Linked DNA regions of Homo sapiens: regions 2, 3 and 4 are each linked to region 1. Evidence: promoter capture Hi-C in 16 types of primary human blood cells and fetal thymus (Javierre and others, 2016). All regions are on one chromosome and are shown on one strand. Each heading gives the region's core, a stretch centred on a gene start or on the middle of the fragment in contact. The rest is flanking DNA. Distances are from core to core; before and after follow the strand shown.

Region 1 (2,867 bases), core at 164-2,663:
ACCATATGTTTTATTATCTACAGATCTGCATTCTGTCACTATTCTTCCTAATCTCCTTCTAGCCTAATCAAAACACAAGGAAACAAAAAACTAGAAAAACAAAACAAAAAGCTTTATGGATCACACTTTTTATTGGACACGATACTCTTCCTTTTTGCAATGTCCTCCCACTAGGCTCCCAACCAGGCCCTCCTGAAAAATTCTCTCTCAAAACTTTACTCTGTGCATGCACATACTTCTGTTGGGACACCTATTTTATACATACCATCTCAGGCAGAAAATTCCCAAACTGAAATGTACAGGCAACGTACTTTTATTCTACGGAGTTAACAAATTTTTAATTCCTTGTCTATGAGGTTGAAAATCCCAATTAAATTTCTGGTCTTCCCCTCTTGCTCCTGGGTTGTGGTTAAATTCTTGGGGAGTCTTCACAGTACCTAAGTTTTGGAGAAGATGTAGGCACCCGCCCTCATCCCTCCTTCAGATTTTGGCATCCTCTTCCTAGTATCTGTGTGTTGTTTGCATATTTCTGTATCGTTTTGCTTTTACAGAGCCACACTGAAGCTTGAGAATCTGAGGCTTTCTGTAGCTTCCCCGTACACAGAATCATTCCCTCTTTGGAGCCTTGCTACCTACTCCAGACTACTTGGAATGCAGACATTTGCTCATTACTCTGGGACCCAGGGGTATTCCCTTTCTCTTAATCTTATTAATATTTCACTTCAGAAGCATTTCCTGTGTTGTGAAATTTTTCTCAGAGGCTTCTTTAATTGGTTTAGATTTTTAATGGATTTAGTCACATAAAAGCCAATGACTCCCAAATTCTTAAGTCCTGTCCCATCCCAATACCTGAGGCAGGGAGAAAAATATAAATGACCATCGTTCCTAAATCTGATAGCTCAGTGGATACACCCGGGGAGCTTTTAAAATTAAGAGACACTCCCAAGCACAACTCTACAGCATCAGAATTTGTTTTCTTGACGATCACAGACGATCAAGGCAGAATTCTTCCATCAGTGGTGGGCGTGGGGCGGGACTCCACTCGGTCTTTCTGTCCTCTAAGTCTTCTAATTTTTTTCCCAGTAATCCGCCCTCCCGTTCTCCTTCTTTGGCCCATCCCTCTTCTAGTCTTTCCCTGCTCCCCTGCACCAATCTTTCTGCGTCCCGTCCCCTCCCATTCCCCTACCCCACCCCACCCCACCCCACCCCACGTTTCCCGCCTCCCGCGCCTCTCCCGCTTTCCGCCCCCTCGCGTCTCCTCCCCTCCCACCCGCACCTCCACCCCCTGCCTCTCTCCTGCCCGCCCCGCCCCCTCTTCCGCTCTACGTCCCTCCTCACCCATGCGCACTCTCTTCAACCCGCTGCTTCCGGCGGCCTAGGCTTACGTTTACTTTGCGCCGGAAAGAGAACCTGTAAACGCTCTCGGAATTATGGCGGCGGTGGATATCCGAGGTATACTGTATTGCTATATTTTGTCTCTTGATTGTCTGTGGACCAGTTTGGGATGTTATAGCTCGCGGTTTCAAGGTTTAGGTTCCTTTGTGTGAAGTCTCAAGCTTTTTTGAGTGGTTTTTGTGGACAACCCAAGGCTGTGATCTAGCGAAACGTTGACGAGTTTTTTTTTTTTTCTGAGTTCTTGGAGCGTCTCTTGGAAGCGTCGGAGAGAAGGGGTTGGAAGAAGCTCTGGGTTTTGAGCTTTCAGAGCTGGAGTTTTGTTCTACACACGTATCTCTGCAACAACATTAGGGCTATTCTATTGGAGTGAAGGAATGGCGTTTAGGCAGAGAAGGGAATGGGGTAATAAGCCAACTTGATTTGATTCATCTCTTGGGACTTGGCATGGTGGCTGCCTAATTCTTTAGACCGCGCCACACGGGTCCCTGAGCATGAATCCCAGATATTTTCTTTTTTTTTGAGTCGATAATACTTTACATCGAACGTCCAGCAATTATTATGGGCAGGGGTCGTATTTTTTTCACAGCTGAACTGCAGAAGTACTCAAATATTGAATCAGTCAGTGAATAAATGTATGGAGATGTCACCCCTTAACTGCTGCTTGATCTTGGGGAGCATGTAGAGTTGTTTTTGTGTATATAGTACTTGATTTTTAAAGGGAGATGTTTGAGATGCCTTTTTTTAATATTAACTGGATTGGGGTCTAACACATTTATTACAAATATTCTCATTTATACTTATCTGGCGATCTGCAGCACTTCTGGATCATGATTTTACATACGTGTCTTTCATTATTTATTTCATCACTTGCTGATGGTTAGAATGCTGTTAGAATGCTTGGGCTATGTCAACATGTTGCCTTGCTACAGAATAAAAAAGAGAAATATTTAGTTTATAAAATGTTTTACTTATAATTCAGATTGTTAGGATCATGGCAAAGACTCTAAAATAAGAGTGTGTTTGGTGTGTTAAAGGAACAGCAAGGAGGTCAGTGTGGCTGGAGGGTAGTGAGAGAGGATGTGGGAAGGAGATGAAGTCAGAAAGGTGTTGAAAGCTATGATAAGGTCTTTGGCTTTTCCTCTGAGTAAAACGCAGAGCCATTGGAGGGGTTTCCATCAGAGGAATGATGTGATCTGACTTTTTTTTAGGACTACATTGGCTGCTGGGAACAGTGTAGGAGGGCAAGGGTAGAATTAGGAAAACCAGTTAGGAGGCCATTTCTGAAAATGTTATTTCCTGGCCTGTTGTGTATTTGGTTATTGCATGATCCAGTTATGATGAACTATCTAAATGGTCTATACTAATTATTTGGTTATTAACGCACTTCATCTGTCTCCTCCTTTATTTTATAGCACACAAAGTACATTTTACCTTTATATAATTTTTCTCGGTTGAGTCACTTGGCTCAAAAC
Region 2 (2,867 bases), core at 200-2,699, 250 kb after region 1:
TCTCCATAGCCTTTTTAAAATTCAAGTTTGTCTTAGTCCATTTGTGTTGCTAGAAAGCAGGGGTCCTCAACCCCTGGGCCACGGACTGGTACTGGTTTGTGGCCTGTTAGGAACTGGGCTGCACAGTAGGAGGTGAGCAGTAGGTGAGTGGGCATTATTGCCTGAGCTCCACCTCCTGTCAGATCAGAGGTGGCATTAGATTCTCATAGGAGCACGAGTCCTATTGTGAACTGCACATGTGAGGGATCTAGGTTGCATGCTCCTTATGAGATCTAATGTCTGATGATCTAAAGTGGAACAGTTTCATCCCCAAACTGCCATCCCACCCCCCACCCCCGCCACCATCTGTGGAAAAATGGTCTGCCATGAAACTGGTCCCTGGTGCCAGAAAGTTTGGGGACCACTGTTGCTATAAAGGAATACTAGAGGCTGGGTAATTTATAAAGGAAAGAATTTTCTTTTGGCTCATGGTTCTGCAGGCTGTACATACTGTGAAGCACGGCACAGCATCTGCTTCTGGTGCGGGCCTCAAGCTGCTTCCACTTGTGGCAGAAGGCAAAAGGGAGCCAGCATGTGCAGAGATCACATGCCAAGAGAGAGGGGAGGGAGGTGGCAGGCTCTTTTTGACAACCAGCTCTCAAGGGAACTAATAGAGTGAGAACTCACTCATTACCACAAGGACAGCCTCAAGCCTTTCGTGAGGGATCTGTCCCCATGACCCAAACACCTCCCACTAGGCCTTCCCTCCAACATTGGGGGTCAGATTTCAACAGGAGGTTTGGAGGGTCAAATATCCAAACTTGAGTAAAGTTATTTTCCTGGTTCTTGTCATGACAATGGAATTTGTATTATATCTTGAACATTTTAAATATTAGGAAATGATATCCTATTTAAGTCTTCTAGTTTAGCAGGATGTCGTCATGTTTAACTTGTAGGCAGTAGCCTACTATAATATTTTGGGCTCCCTTTCCTGGAACTTAGGTTCCAGATTTTGCAGTACTAATCTGGTCTGCTTTGTTCACCCGGTGGTACTGGGATTCGTGCTTGATCATGTCTGTATGGAATGTTGTAATCAACATATGCTTTTAAAGCCATAAGATTGATTAAGATTACAAAATAAGTGAATAGAGAAGAAGAGAAAACATTGTGCCCTGAGGTATGCCAACATTGGAGAGTTGAGGTATACAGGAGGAAACAATCAAGGAGACTAAGAAAGAGTGACTCTGTGGCAAAAGAAAAACCAGATATGAGGGAAGAGGAGGAGAGTGTGATCAATTGTATGAAATTTTATTCATGAAATCAGATGAAAATAAGTAAATCACCAGATTTAGTAATGTGGATGTCATTGATGGTTGGAATGGATCTAAGAGAGAGTAGGAAGAGCAGCTAGTATAGGCAACTCATTTGAGAAATTTTTCTGCATATAGGAACAAAGAAAGAGGTTGGTATCTGGTGGGAAAGTGGTGTCCAGGAAAGTTTGTTAATAAGATAGGAGAAATAATAGCATTTTTATGCTGGATCCTGCAGTGGTGAGCAAGATTTTGATGATACAGGAAAGGAGAGAATTGATGAATCAGTGTCCTTCAGTAGATAAGAGAAGATTGGAGATAAATGAAGATATTTAGTTAGGAGTGTGGATTCTATGGTAACAGGCAGTAAGTGTTGCAGTGCAATTCAAACACCACACACACACACACACACACGCACACACACACTCTATGCATAGTCCTGCACAAAACTCCCCTAACTTCCTACACCAGGCATAACCCCAGGTTTAAGCCACCCCCTCAGGTTCAATAATTTAGTAGAACTACTCATAGAACTCAGGAGAATACTATACTTATGATTACAGTGTTATTATAAAGGATATAAATTAGGAACAGCCAAAAAAAGAGACTCATATGTCGAGGTCCAGGAGGGTCCTGCATGCAGAGCTTCTGTGTTCTGTCCCCATGGGATCAGGGCATGTCACCCTCCTTGCACATTGATGTGTTTACCAACCAGGGAGTTCAACCAAGTTTCACTGTCCAGAATTTTTACTGGGGTTTCATTATATAGGCATGGGTGATTGAACCATTGGCCATGTGACTGAACTGTCTCCAGCTCTCCTCTTCTCCCTTGAGGTTTGGAGGTTGGGTTGATATCACATAGCTCAAAGCCCCAGCCCTCTAGTCACATGGCTGGACTTTTCAGCATGGCCTGCCTGTATCTTTTCATTGAAACTGAAACAAAAGTTATTTTGCGTATACAAATCTTACATTTTGACATTGCAGGTATTAGCTGCTTATCTATAACAGATATTTTTTCTGATTTGTTCTCTTTTGATTTTATGTTGTTTTTATTTCATTTATTTGTCAGCATAGAAGTTTTATTTATTATTATTATTGTTGTTTTTTTAAGAGAGGAGGTCTTGCTGTGTTGCCCAGGCTGGTCTTAAACTCCTGGCCTCAAGTGATTCTCCCACCTCAGCCTCCGGCGTAGTTGGGATTACAGGGATAAGCTACCATACCCACCCAGAAGTTTTAAATTTTTATGTGGTCACATATACTTGGTTTTGAAATTTATAGCCTCTGATGATAAAATCTTCTGATGGGAAAAAAAATGAAATTCATAACCTCAAGGTTTTGTTGGTATTCTCAACTTCAAAATTATAAACATTTATGTTTTATACCTTTTAATATTTAATTCTTTAATTGGTATATAAATATATTTATAAAAAAAAGGAAGGTAGGGGCCGGGCGCAGTGGCTCACGCCTGTAATCCCAGCACTTTGGGAGGCTGAGGCAGGTGGATCACAAGGTCAGGAGTTTGAGACCATCCTGGCCAATATGGTGAAACCCTGTCTCTACTGAAAATATAAAAAATTA
Region 3 (2,867 bases), core at 141-2,640, 230 kb before region 1:
AAAGACTGCAGCCAATGTTTTTTCTTCCTCTTCTTACAAGCTTGTAAACAGCTGGCATTCAATGATATTCATTGACTGATGGGATGAGTAAATGAATGATGACACAGCTGTTACATGGGCCAAGGGAGTCTTCTGCTCTACATTAGCCTTAGCAGAATTAGTTTAGGAACTGTTTAATGGTGATTGAAGCCCACCAGAGCTATCTTTAGCAAAAGCTGGCCCTTGGTGGGATATTGTTTACAGCAGGCAGGGACAGATGGGAACCAAGGCCTGAATGACAGGGAGCCTCTTGTTTTCATTCCTCTCTGAACGTCTACATGCTTTCTCTGGATGCAGTTTGGGTTTTTTTTTTCTTTTCTTTTTTTTTTTTGAGACGGAGTTTTACTCTTGTTGCCCAGGCTGGAGTGTAGTGGCATGATCTCAGCTCACTGAAACCTCCACCTTCCAGGGTTCAAGAGATTCTCCTGCCTCAGCCTCCCGAGTAGCTGGAATCACAGGTGCCCGCTACCATGCCTGGCTAATTTTTTGTGTTTTTAGTACAGATGGGGTTTCACCATGTTGTCCAGGCTGGTCTTGAACTCCTGACCTCAGGAGATCCACCCGCCTCAGCCTCCCAAAGTGCTGGGATTACAGGCGTGGGCCACCGTGCCTGGCCCAATTTGGTATTTTTAAATTTTCAGTCCACCTAGTCAGAAAATAGCTTTCTAAGCCTCCAGTGTTTGTATTTCCTCTGCTCAAGAGCCCAGAGTGACTGAGACTGAGCCACCTTCATTCCCATTCCTGGGGTCTGCACCTGGCTCAATCAACCAAAATGGCACCTGAGGAGGTGTTATCATGTGGATTTGGCAATCCACTGTTATCATGTGGATTTGGCTATAGGAGCAGTTCTTGGGAAAAAGGGGAGATTCAGGCAAACAACCCAATTGGTATCTCCCGCAAAGCCAAATAATAATTACTACTTGCTTACATTTGCATAGTGCTTTAAGGATACTTGTTATCCATGATCTCATTTGATTCTTGGCACAACCTTATGAGGTAGGCAAAACAGGTATTAATATTCTTACTTCACATCTACTTTATTTCACCTTGCTGTGGGTCTGTTTTTAAAAATTCCTATCTCGGCTGGGCACGGTGGCTCATGCCTGTAATCCCAGCACTTTGGGAGGCTGAGGCGGGCAGATCACGAGGTCAAGAGATCGAGACCGTCCTGGCCAACATGGTGAAACCCTGTCTCTACTAAAAATACAAAAATTAGCTGGGTGTGGTGGCATGCATCTGTAGTCCCAGCTACTCAGGAGGCTGAGGCAGGAGAATTGCTTGAACCTGGGAGGCAGAAGTTGCAGTGAGCCCAGATTGTGCCATTGCACTCCAGCCTGGCGACAGAGCAAGACCCTGTCTCAAAAAAAAAAAAAAAAAAAATTGTATCTCTTCTATTTGCCTTTACATTTATTGAGGGCGTAGATTATATCTTTTTACCTTTGCACTTAGATCTCTAGCACCTAGCTCTGGGCTCTGTACATGATGGGCATTTAATTGATATTTCTTTTCTTTTTCTTTTTTTTTTTTTTTGAGATGGAGTCTCACTCTATTGCCCAGGCTGGAGTGCAGTGGCACGATCTTGGCTCACTGCAACCTCCGCCTCCAGGGTTCAAGCCATTCTCCCGCCTCAGCCTCCCTTAGTTGATATTTCTTAAATTGAATTTCTGTTTTCCAGATGAGAAAACTGAGGTCCAGGCTGGGCGAGGTAGCTCACGCCTGTAATCTCAACACTTTGGGAGGCCAAGGAGGGAGGACCACTTGAGCTCAGGACTTTGGGACCAGCCTGGGCAACATTTGTGAAATCTTGTGTCTACTAAAAAAAAAAAAAAAAAAAAAAAAAGCTGGGCATAGTGATGCATGCCTCTAGTCCCAGCTACTTGGGAGGCTAAGCCAAGAGGATACCTTGGGCCTGGGAGATTGAGGCTGCAGTGATCAGTGATCATGCCACTGCACTCCAGCCTGGGTGACAGAGAGAAATTGTCAGAGAAAGAAAGAAAGAAAGAAAGAAAGAAAGAAAGAAAGAAAGAAAGAAAGAAAGAAAGAAAGAAAGAAAGAAAGAAAGAAAGAAAGAAAGAAAGAAAGAAAGAAAGGAAGGAAGGAAGAAAGAGAAAGAAAGAAAGAAAGAAAGAGAGAAAGAAAGAGAGAGAGAAAGAGAGAAAGAAAAAAGAAAGAAAGAAAGAAAGAAAGAAAGAAAGAAAGAAAGAAAGAAAGAGAAAGAAAGAAAGAAAGAAAGAGGAAGACAGAAAAAAACCTGAGGTCCAGAATGCTGAGTGGCTTGCTTTGGGACACACAACTCTAGGGACAGGAACCTAATGATCCGCAACCAGTTATCATCCCTCTATGTATCCAGTGGATGATTCATAACAACAGAGATAAGCCTTTGGAACCCCAGTTATATGGTGGCTTAGACTAGGTTCACACCTGAGAGGTCTCCAGCAGCTCAGAAAGACCATGCTGTAAGACAAAGCACCCAGGCTCTGAGGTTAGAAGCCTGAAGTCTGGTGGCCTCCAGGAAAACAATCTCAGCCCTCCAAGAAGGGTCCTTGCCAGAGGAGTTGGACAAGCACCTAAGGAAGGCAGGTTATTAAAACCTGAATTTTCTCAGGAGCTGACTCAACTTTCTTAGCTGCCTCACATTTGAGTTTGATGGGAGAGAAAGGAGAAAGAAGCTGAGGTAGACACTGCCTTTGTGAGAAGCTTCCCATCACCTGGCAGAAGGCAGTCAGGGACAGCTGCAAGCTAGAGCTTATGGTCTCTGAAGTGGGCAAGATCATACAGCTCCACCACTTACAAAATGACCTGGACAAGCCACTTCAGCTGTGTTCATT
Region 4 (2,867 bases), core at 229-2,728, 180 kb before region 1:
AATTACTCTGTCTGACTGTCCCATCCTTTCCATCCCCAGTACTTGAGTTTGTCATTCACCATTGTCCCCTGGACAATTGTAATAGGTTACTTACTGTGGCTCACTGCCAGTCTGTTGCTTTTTCAGTTTAATTTGTCTCACTGCAACCATAGTTGTTTTGCTGAAACTCAAATCTTGTCACAACACTTTTCTGCTTAAAAACTACTTGTGACTCCAGGGTCATTTCCAAGTTCCTTGGCAGGGTCTGTAGTCTTCCAGTCCTGCCCCAGCCCTTCACTGCGGCTCCTTCTTCTCCCTTTCTACCTCATGAAAGTTCTGCTCCAGCTACAAGGGACTATTTCTTAGATATGTCAAGGCCCCTCAGCCCTCTTGGACCTGGACTCACGTTATTCCCTCTGCTGGGAGTGGTCTTTCTTCTGATTCTCCCCCTGGACCAAACCCTGTCCTCTCGTTACAGCACAGAGAGCAGTTGTTTATTCTGTGAGCCCCTTCTAAGGAGCCCCTTCCTCTGTACATTCTAGTTTCAGGCATCCTCCATGTTAGGTGTTCAAACAAGATGGGTGGACGGGGTAGGGTAAGGCATCATCAAGAGCATGAGAGTAGCCAGTGGTCCCCACTTTACCACTTTCTGGCTGGGTAGCTCAGGGGAATATCCTCACTTCTCAGCCACAGCTTCTTCATCTGTAAGTAGAGATTAAAACAGTACATATCCGTAAATAGAGATTAAAACAGTACATCTGTTTTTATATAAGTACTGCACGTAAAATGCTTAGCATGGTGCCTGCCATGTGGTAAGTGCTCAGTAAATGCTAGCAATGATGATGACAGTGTTATAGGTGTAGACTTATATGGCCAGAATGAGAGAAGTTTGGCCTGGTGCAGTGGCTCATGCCTGTAACCCCTGCACTTTGGGAGGCCGAGGACGGTGGATCACCTGAGGTCAGGAGTTTGAGACCAGCCTGGCCAACATGGCGAAACCCCGTCTCTGCTAAAAACACAAAAATTAGCCAGGTGTGGTGGCACATACCTGTAATCCCAGCTACTCAGGAGGCTGAGGCATGAGAATTGCTTGAACCTGAGAGACGGAGTTGCAGTGAGCAGAGATCGCGTCGTGACACTCCAACCTGGGTGACAAAGGGGGACTCCGTCTCAAAAAAAAAAAAAAAAAATAGCTGGGCGTGGTGATGTGTGCCTGTGGTTGAGGCTACTTGGGAGGCTGAGGTGGGAGGATTGCTTGAGCCCAAGGCAGCAGGGGGCAGAGGTTGCAGTGAGCTGAGATTATACCACTGCACTCCAGCCTGGGTGACAGAGTGATACCTTGTCTCAAAACAACAACAACAACAATAACAACAACAACAAACAACAAAAAACAAAAGGGAGAGAGAGAGGTTCCGTCCTAGTTTCCTTTATAGGATCATCTATTTATCCCTCTCTTTTCCTTTCCTTTTTTCTGTGTAGGTGACTGTCGACCTTTTCTAGTAACCACAGTGGTTGGTATCTTTTACCAGTTTCTGCCAAAGTAGGTAGATTCTCAGGCATGCGTGTTGGCTGGGAGGAATCTTGATTTTTTGGAGTGAAATCTTGGATTCTGTCCTGATTATAATTCTGGTCTTGGATGTTGGTTATGTCTTAGAGGCTTTAGCCCTTTCCACCCATGGTGCTGGTGTCTCTTCGCAGAGAACTAGGTGGACACTGCATTAGTCAGGGTGGGGCCTCATGGTCCTGATATATCTTTTCACAGCCAAGGATCTAGTGTCTTAAGAGTTGACTTGCCAGGGCTTGTGACTCTCTGGTGACCAGTGGTCCTTATGCTTTGGGACTCCAGCCAGTATCCCCTGACTACTTTTAATAGCATCAGACTGGTTTGATAGGGAAGACTTTCTGAACCCTGGGATGTGATGGAGCAAGGAGACCCTCCTTCTGTAAAATAACCATTCCCTCTGCTTTTGAGTATGTCAGGAGGGTCTTTCCTGGGATGAATGAGCAGTGAGTAATGCTTCTCCCTTGGCTGACTATGGTTGCTGGTGAACAGTGGAGCTGGGGTCCAGAGGTTTTGGAGTGGACACTTATTCTTTGCCTTTCTGATATATGAGCCTCAGCCTTTCTCACCACTGTCTAAGAGTGCTTTCTGCTGCTCTGGGGATGAGTCATTGGATAGGGCACACATTTTAGAAAAGAAAAAAGATAAGTGGATGGTGATTTGATATGGATGGGGGCAGGAACTGGAGATTCCCCTGAGAAATGACTACCCCTTTGAGGTGGGCATTGGTCGAAGCAACAGCGCCCTAGAGATGGGTAGAAAGTGAGAGATCTTTGGCCGGGTGTGGTGGCTCACGCCTGTAATCCCAGCACTTTGGGAGGCCGAGGTAGGCAGATCACCTGAGGTAAGGAGTTCGAGACCAGCCTGGCCAACAAGGTGAAACCCTGTCTCTGCTGAAAATAGAAAAATTAGCCGGGTGTGGTGGCAGGCGCCTTAATCCCAGCTACTTGGGAGGCAGGGGCAGGAGAATAATTTGAACCTGGGAGGCAGAGGTTGCAATGAGCTGACATCAAGCCATTGCACTCAAACCTGGGGGACAAGAGCGAGACTTCTCTCAAAAAAAAAAAAAAAAGTGAGAGATCTTTTAGTTCAGGGTGTTTCATAGTTTTTATAGCCTAGTGTCTTAAGGGCTGATGGGAGAGGATTTTTTTTTAAATCAAAGTGGAGGTTCTAGGTTGAGAATGCTTTATTTGGGGCCCGAGTGAACAGCTATATGGGACCTACCTGCTACTGCTAGCGCCAAATATATACCTATTTTGAGGGTGAATCTCTAACGGAGAGAGCAGAGCTTTAAGATCGTAGGGATTCCTTTGCTTTATTAGTTTTT

The links. The method cuts DNA at HindIII sites, captures the fragments that hold promoters and counts their contacts. A CHiCAGO score of 5 or more calls a contact.
Region 2: a fragment that was not itself captured here is called in contact with the fragment with the promoter of MED6 in region 1 in 2 of 17 cell types (fetal thymus and naive CD4 T cells); the score reaches 6.2 in fetal thymus.
Region 3: a fragment that was not itself captured here is called in contact with the fragment with the promoter of MED6 in region 1 in 1 of 17 cell types (naive B cells); the score reaches 7.2 in naive B cells.
Region 4: a contact is called between a fragment that was not itself captured here and the fragment with the promoter of MED6 in region 1, in 2 of 17 cell types (total B cells and naive B cells). The highest score is 6.8, in total B cells.

Annotation. Positions count from the first base shown.
Region 1 is chr14:70,599,201-70,602,067 of GRCh38, reverse strand. MED6 (mediator complex subunit 6) reads left to right here and starts at 1,413. Exons shown (of 8, transcript NM_005466.4): 1 at 1,413-1,452. The coding sequence starts at 1,431. RefSeq lists an enhancer at 712-1,911. The HindIII fragment of the contact is 992 bases long and covers 567-1,558 here.
Region 2 is chr14:70,353,678-70,356,544 of GRCh38, reverse strand. All of the region lies in intron 3 of SYNJ2BP-COX16 (SYNJ2BP-COX16 readthrough), which reads left to right. All of the region lies in intron 1 of COX16 (cytochrome c oxidase assembly factor COX16), which reads left to right. Among named protein-coding and RNA genes, the nearest start is that of COX16, 4.6 kb to the left of the region's middle. The HindIII fragment of the contact is 8,104 bases long and covers 1-2,867 here.
Region 3 is chr14:70,824,726-70,827,592 of GRCh38, reverse strand. No RefSeq gene overlaps it. Among named protein-coding and RNA genes, the nearest start is that of MAP3K9, 17 kb to the right of the region's middle. The HindIII fragment of the contact is 2,696 bases long and covers 43-2,738 here.
Region 4 is chr14:70,776,579-70,779,445 of GRCh38, reverse strand. All of the region lies in intron 2 of MAP3K9 (mitogen-activated protein kinase kinase kinase 9), which reads left to right. Among named protein-coding and RNA genes, the nearest start is that of MAP3K9-DT, 31 kb to the left of the region's middle. RefSeq lists an enhancer at 2,723-2,802. The HindIII fragment of the contact is 3,380 bases long and covers 1-2,867 here.